Linked DNA regions of Homo sapiens: region 2 is linked to region 1. The links are contacts of gene promoters, found by promoter capture Hi-C in blood cells and fetal thymus (Javierre and others, 2016). All regions are on one chromosome and are shown on one strand. The core of a region is centred on a gene start or on the middle of the fragment in contact, and the rest is flanking DNA. Distances in the headings are between cores, read along the strand shown.

What was found. The method cuts DNA at HindIII sites, captures the fragments that hold promoters and counts their contacts. A CHiCAGO score of 5 or more calls a contact.
Region 2: a contact is called between a fragment that was not itself captured here and the fragment with the promoter of LIMD2 in region 1, in 1 of 17 cell types (erythroblasts). The highest score is 6.0, in erythroblasts.

What each region holds. Positions count from the first base shown.
Region 1 is chr17:63,698,759-63,702,586 of GRCh38, reverse strand. It overlaps LIMD2 (LIM domain containing 2), which reads left to right and starts at 2,462. Exons shown (of 5, transcript NM_030576.4): 1 at 2,462-2,555; 2 at 3,239-3,330; 3 at 3,518-3,559; 4 at 3,649-3,788. The coding sequence starts at 3,289. LOC729683 (a long non-coding RNA gene) reads right to left here and starts at 2,249. Exons shown (of 1, transcript NR_046273.1): 1 at 1-2,249. RefSeq lists silencers at 484-563, 1,754-2,713, 2,804-3,263, 3,354-3,583 and enhancers at 984-1,083, 879-1,463, 1,464-2,049. The HindIII fragment of the contact is 14,945 bases long and covers 1,101-3,828 here.
Region 2 is chr17:62,602,661-62,606,488 of GRCh38, reverse strand. TLK2 (tousled like kinase 2) reads right to left here. Exons shown (of 22, transcript NM_006852.6): 20 at 248-359. Among named protein-coding and RNA genes, the nearest start is that of MRC2, 23 kb to the left of the region's middle. The HindIII fragment of the contact is 3,362 bases long and covers 225-3,586 here.

The DNA.
Region 1 (3,828 bases), core at 1,213-3,712:
CCACTTTGGAGCTAAAAAGTTCCAAAGATTGAGATTGAGGCAGAGGATGCTGGTGGCCTTTGGCAGGAAAGGAGGTAGAAGGGTTTGTCTTGCAACCGGACATGGGTGTCTCCTTACCCTGGGTGCTAGCACCCAAAGAGCAGGAAACCTAAGAACCAGCCCCGCCCATCCCTGCCATGCTGGCTGGCGCCAGCGAGTGTGAGCCAGGGGGTGCAAATCTGAGGCTCCCTGCAGTGCTTCCAGGGCACATGGCTTACCCTTCTCCCAGTCCCTCAGGGGGAAGGCCCTCCCCCAGCTCAGGCACCTCAAATGCCCCTCTAACCTGAAGCTGCACTGAACCATCAGGTGCCCTTGCTTTCCGTTTCCTCCCAAATTTTAACAGCAGTTTAAAGAAGAAAAGTAAGCCTCTTTGGGCAGTGAGAGGCTAAGGTGAAGGGAATGACACTGACCCTGGGCTAGGATGGGGCCTGGGGCGAGTGAGTGTCGGGGGCGGCGGGGAGCATTTCCGGCCCTCCTCCCCCTGCTTTAAACCTCAAGTTCCCTTCGCCTCGCCCCGCCCTCCCCCCCCCACACACACACAAACACAGAGTCTGTCGCCCAGGCTGGCGTGCACTGGCTTCATGTTGACTCACTGTAGGCTCCACCTCCCGGGTTCAAGCGATTCTTCTGCCTCAGCCTCCCGAGTAGCTAGGATTACAGGCACACACCACCACGCCTGGATAATTTTTGTATTTTTAGTAGAGACGGGATTTCACCATGTTGGCCAGGCTGGTCTTGGACTTCTGACCTCGTGATCCACCTGTCTCTGCCTCCCAAAGTGCTGGGACTACAGGCGTGAGCCACCGCCGAGCCAAGTTCCCTTTTTTTGTTTGTTTTTGACGCTGGTCATCAGTTTCCTTTGCTTCTGGATGCCTTCTGCACCTTGCTGTTGGGGCATCCTCAATGCCCATCTGCAGCTCAGCCCACAGGCCCGTCCTGGGCAGGGTGCCGGGGCCTCACCATGCCCAATGGCAGCAAGCCCTGCTCCTAGTACCCCCGGGGCTTCCCGTTTCTTGCATCAAACAGCCCCTTTGGAGAATCTGATGACAGGTGTGGAAGCTTTCCCGAGAGGCAGCCACTTTAGAGGGTCTGACGCTCCCCACTAGAGAGTCGGCCCACAGTGCAGACAAAACGCAGATCTTCCTCTAGAGAGAACAGAAGGCTGGAGAGGAGACGCGGAGCCGGTCCGTGGAGTCCGCCAGCCTGGGAAACAGCTGGTCGCTGGGGAAGCTGCAGCCTCCCTGCTCCCCTGCCAGGCGTCGGGCGAGAGCTGTTCTGTTCCCTGACAAGCGCGTGGGCCGCCAGTGCTATTCCTGCCACAGTGTGGGAAGGCGCTGGGCTAAGGGCTGTGCTTCCCGGAGCTGCTTCTAGCCTGATTTCCGGCCAAGCCACGCAGTCCCTGGTGCCCGGGAAGGCGCCGGCCTCGCCGCCGCTCCAAAGCGAGTGGCCGTCTCTCGCCGGCTGTGCCTCCGGCCTGCTGTGCGGCTGCAGGGAGGGAGCAGCTCTGCGGCCCAAGCTCTGTCACCTCAGCTCTCTGGGCCGCGGCTCCCACGTGAGAAATGAGGTGCGCTTGTTGGAGAGGGGGCCCCCGTTGCTGCCCACAGAATTCCGCCCCAGAAACGCTTGAGTACGTGGAGCCTCGGGGGACGGGTGCTCCGGGAACCACGCATACCGGCCTCCCCAGCCCGTCGCAGGGTTGCAGAGGCGCCGAGGGCTGGGGGGGCTGCCGGGGCTGCCGGGCCCTCGTGCAGGCTCCTCCCCGCAGCCTCGCGGCCGGGCCTGGAGACCGCGTGCCCGGACGCCGCCGCCAGCCTCGTGGGCCGCAAAGGGGCGGGGGCGGCCCCTGGCGGCGGGAGGACTCGGCCGCCCGAGGGACCCCGGGCCAGGCTCCGGGGTCGCCCCGGCTGGGTCTCTGCGGCCCCACAGCTCTGGGCGGGGATGGGGGCGCCGGCGCCTACGCGCGAGGCCAACCGGGGGAAACCGAGGCAGTGAATGGCCCAGGCCCCGCCCGGTTATCCCGGAGCCAGGCCGGGAGCGCCCAGTGTCCCGCGACCGCAGCCGCCGCAGCCTGAACTCGTCCCCTCCCAGTAGGATGCGGAGCGCGGCCCTTCCATCCTGTCCCTGCCACCGTTGCTTCCCCACGCCGGGCCGCCGTCGGGATGGGCAGACGGCGCGGCCGGTACCCGAGGCCTGCGAGCGCGAGGCCCGCGGGGCGCTGCGGAGCCGGGAGCGCGGAGCCGGGGCGGGGGACAGACAAAGGCGGGGACGGCGGCGAGGGGAAGACAAAGCGCGGAGGGGGGTCGGCGGCGGCGCCGGGGCCCCGAAGGCGGCTCCGGGCGCGGCGGAGCCAATGGGCGGGCGCGGGGCGGGGGCCGGCGGGGGCGGTGCAGCGATAAGGCGGTGGCGGCGGCGGTGGCTCGGGGACCACTGGTAGCGGCAGCAGCTCGCGCCCGCGCCCTCCTCGTACCCGTGCGCCCCCGGAGACCGATCCCGCCCCGCGGCCCAGGCCGGGCCTGGTGAGAGCCGCGGGGGGAGGGGCCGCGTCCGGCTCCGGAACCGGGAGAGGCGCCGAGGGGTGTGGGGTGAGGGCCGCCCGTGGGGTCCCGGCGAGTCTGCGAGCCGCTCTCGCCCGGGGCGCACAGGCTCGAGTCCTCGTTTCAGGGCCGGCCCCCGGCTGGGCGGAGCCGAGACCCGCTGGCGGGGCTCGCGGCGTCGGGGTCTGGGGTCCGGTCCTCGCGGGGCCAGGTCGGGGGCCGAGGGGCGGGGCGGGCGGGGACCTCGGGCGCTGTCCAGGGGCTGCGCAGCCTAGGCCTGGACGCCCGGGCGCGGCGCAGGGCAGCGAGGGCCGGGGTCAGGTCGGGGCAGCGGCTTCTCATCGCGGCCCCGCCGGCCCCGACCTCCCCTCACCCCAAGCGGTCCCAGCCCGCGGGACGCACACGGCGGCTGCGCGGGAGCCCCCGGCCCCTCCGCTCCCGCTAACTTTGTTCTTCCGAGGGACGGTGCCACTCGGGACCCCGGCCCCTGGGGAGCAGGGGTGGGGGAGGTGGGTGAGGGGCGGAAGTGGCAAGACCAAGAGCAACAGGAAATGACTTAGGGAAAGTCCCAACCGCAATCCCCCCAGCCCCTGCCTGTCAACACCCCCCACCCTGCAGGCTGGGGCCGGGCTGGCGGGGCCCTCCCGACTGACTTCCCCTTGCAGAACCCAGCGGGTGCCGCTTCTCCACCCGAGGCTTCCACCTCCAACGAGCCATGTTCCAGGCTGCAGGAGCCGCCCAGGCCACCCCCTCTCATGTAAGTGCCCGGCTGGGTGGGAGGGCCCCCCGGACAGGAGCCTGGCCTGGGGTGAAGGGGAGAGGCATCAGAGTTTGCCGGCCCCCTTTGTGCCCTGCGGCGCGCCCCTGGGCCTTGGGCTGATGGCTGCAGCCCTGATCCAGGGCCTCCCGGAGCTGCCCCTGCCCTGACCGCCCCTCTCCCTCAGGACGCCAAAGGCGGCGGCAGCAGCACGGTGCAGCGCTCCAAGGTAGGGGCCTGGGGCCGGGTGTGCGGGAGGAGGGGTGTGAGGGAGCGGGATGAGCACTGGGGCAGCACCTGGCTGAGCTTCCCGCACAGTCCTTCAGCCTGCGGGCCCAGGTGAAGGAGACCTGCGCCGCCTGCCAGAAGACCGTGTACCCCATGGAGCGGCTGGTGGCCGACAAGCTCATTTTCCACAACTCTTGCTTCTGCTGCAAGCACTGTCACACCAAGCTCAGGTGCGCCCCTGCCCTGCCCGCCCCCGCCTCGCCTGCCAAC
Region 2 (3,828 bases), core at 656-3,155, 1.1 Mb after region 1:
GAGAACAGCAAAAGTGCATGTTTTTAACAGCCCCGCAGAACTCATTAGGTGCCCTAGGGTTGAGGATTTCTGCTTACGAATAAGGCTTGTATTATTAAGTCTGTATTTTCTTTAAACCACTCCTTTCAGGATTCTATTTTGTATAACCCAATAATTAACTCCAATAGACTAATCCATACCAAGGCACTGTGTGTGTGTGTGCCACCCAAGAAAGAGATCAAGCTTCTCCATCAACCTTCTAACTTACCTTCCTTCCATAAAGACACTGATAGAAGATCACACCCACCGACCACACATCAACTTTATTTGAGATCTTTGGTGGTTCTTTCCCAACCACAAAACACTCTGGTGGTAAATACCTGGGACAAAAAAGAAATATAAATTATTAGAATAATGATCATATAAGTTTAAGACATGTACAAAAAGACAAAATAAAATATCTTGTTGAAAATAGAAATATCGTTTTTTTTTTTTTTTTTTTTGGAGACAGGGTCTTGCTCTGTCACCCAGGCTGAGTACAGTGGCGTGATCATGGCTCATTACGGCCTCAACCTCCCGAGCTCGGGTGGTTTCCCCACCTCAGCCTCCCAAGTAGCTGGGATTAAAGGCAGGCACCACCATGCCTGGGTAGTTTTTAAAAAAAATTTGTAGCAGTGGGGTCTCACTGTGTTGCCCAGGCTGGTCTCAAACTCCTGGACTCAAGTGATCCTCCCAGCTCGACCTCCTAAAGTACTGGGATTATAGGTGTGACCCACCACACCTGGCCAAAATATATGAATTTTAACAGTCAACTTAGACTTATATGGAAAGTCAATGAAAAGACACTCTAGGCGGGGTGTGGTAATCCCAGCACTTTGGGAGGACAAGGCCAGCAGATCGCTTGAACTCAAGAATTTGAGACCAGCCTGGGCAACATGGCGAAACCCTATCTCTACTAAAAATACAAAAATTAGCTGCGCCTGGTAGCACACCCCTGTAGCTCCAGCTGCTTGGGAAGCTGAGGCGGGAGGATCACCGGAGCCTGGGGGAGGTTGACTGCAGTGAGCCAAGATCATGCCACTGCACTCCAGCAAGAGAGTGAGACCCCCATCTCAAAGTAAGAAAAGACACTCTAACTTAGGGAGGCAGTAATGTCCCTATAGGGCATCAAAATAGTTCTCAATTTCCTAAGAGTGGTAAATATTCTCACTAGTCCCACTTCACTCACGATCTCGGCTCACTGCAACCTCTGCCTCCCAGGTTCAAGCGATTCTCCTGCCTCAGCCACCCAAGTAGCTGGGATTACAGGCGTGTGCCACCACGCTGGGCTAATTTTTTGTATTTTTAGTAGAGATAGGGTTTCACCGTGTTAGCCAGGATGGTCTCGATTTCCTGACCTCGTGATCCGCCCGCCTCAGCCTCCCAAAGTGCTGGGATTACAGGCATGAGCCACTGCACCTGGCCAGTTCTTGATTTTTTAATATACATAACTTAAATATGATCTTGGATAAGTATAACCTTAATTCTAAAATGACCATTTAAATATATTTGTGACTTTTTTATGGCAGTGGCAGGAAAGAATAGGAGTTGTTGAACTCATCCAAATGCAGAAAAATAAGTTAGCAAGATTTTTTTTTTTTTGAGACAGAGTCTCGCTCCATTGCCAGGCTGGAGTGTAGTAGTGTGACCTCAGCTCACTGCAACCTCCGAATAGCTGGGATTTCAGGCGTGCACCACCACGCCCAGCTAATTTTTTTATTTTTAGTATACACGGGGTTTCACCATGTTGGCCAGGATGGTCTCGATCTCTTGACCTCATGATCCGCCCGCCTTGGCCTCCCAAAGTGCTGGGATTACAGGCATGAGCCACCACACCTGGCTAGCAAGATTTTTAGAATATAAAAAGACCTGTCACTTGATTGTACATGTCTGGCAAATCCCTTTCTAGGTCTCAGTTTCTCCACCTGTAAGTGAATGAAATTAATTCTTCATCCAAATAATACTGAAAATAATAAGCATTCTAACTTACTATCAAGGATTTTGAGAGGAGAGTAAAAGACAGCTCTATGATACTAAACTGTGCTAAAAATATATATATATATATGTATATAGTTGCATATTCCATCACAATCAAAATCCCCATACAAAAAAACAATTATTCTCAAGGCATAGTCTATGGGTCACTTCTTTAAAATAAGTATTCAGCCAGGCGTGGTGGCTCACGCCTATATTCCCAGCACTTTGGGAGGCCGAGGCGGGTGGATCACCTGATATCAGGAGTTCAAGACTAGCCTGGCCAACATGGTGAAACCCCATCTCTACTAAAAATACAAAAAAATTAGCTGGGCGTGGTGGCGGGTGCATGTAAACCCAGCTACTTGAGAGGCTGAGGCAGGAGAATCACTTGAACTCGGGAGGCGGAGGCTGCAGTGAGTTGAGATCACACCATTGCACTCCAGCCCAGGCAACAAGAGCGAAACTCCGTCTCAAATAAATAAATAAATAAATAAATAAATAAATAAATAAATAAATAAATAAAGTATTCAATGTAGAAGAATTCTGTAACCAGTAAATACTGCAAATAGTTACTTATAATTTGTTATACCCTTCAGGATTATTTTTATCTGACATACTGAAGATAGTGATTATGACAGTATTTCTACCAATTTGGAGACTCTTCAAACCTTCATAGAAACCTGTAACACTTAATCTTCTCAGAAGCCCTGTCTTAAATTATTAAAAATCTCAACTATAATCTAAAGCAGAAAGAACAGTAAAATGACCCCCTAAGTAAGCACCATCCAGCTTCAAGAATTATCAACATGTGGCCAATCTCCACCATTTCTCCCAACAGACTACTTTGAAGCAAAATCCCTAGCATCACATAATTTTTACTTAAATTCTAATCACTGAATTTTTGTAGGTAAGCAACTACAGCAGTAACTATTTTAAATGCAAAAAAACTGTGCCTTAAAAAAAAAAAGATCAAACACAAAGCTCAAATCCAAATTCCAGTGAATTTATATAGCAGAGGTATAGACCTGTTTCTAGAATTTCCAGCAGCAGATATTTTTGTATCACTTAGTGACAGGAACACTAGCCCACAATAACCACCACAGTGAATAAACATTGTAAATGCAGCTTCTATTTTAAATCTGTAATTTCAAAGTTTTAATTTAGGGACTGACTTTTTACAACAGGTACCATTTCCACAAGCAGTAAGGAGCAACAGAAACCGGGGCATTGTGTCCATGGTGTTATTGGCAGGCTTCACGATGAGCACAGGGCTGATGCTGTGTTGTGAACGCCATGCCCCTCTGCTTCCTCCTCTACCTCTGATTCCCAGACAGTCAGTACTCTCTGCTAAGGCCTAGGACCTTTCAGTTCCAAAGATAAAGTGATTTGACCACCTTCCCTAGGGTACAAATAACATGTGTTGCCCCTCCGTTGGTGCTATAGAGCCTTCTCTTGCAACTCTTGAAGCAAATCCCTCATCCCATTAAGCCAGGAAGAGAGACTTGTATTTGGACTAAAAAAAACTGGGGGCCATTCTTTATATACACCAATATGTGGCTTGTGTGACCACCTCAAAATGGAAGAGGAAGCTTTATTAACACACTTTTACAACCATAGAGTTAAAGGCCTGAGTTTCAGGTATCTTTTATGGTTCTAATGGCCAAAGGTAATAGTAGGCAGAAATAGAAGCATAAAACTGGCAGGCAGAGGTAGCTTGGGTGCGGGTGGCTAGGGGAAGACAGGTGACAAGAGATGTGAAGAAATGTGCCTCAAAAACTTTTAGATCATGGCTAACAGACATGGATAAACTTCTGGTAAATTGTAGTCACTTTT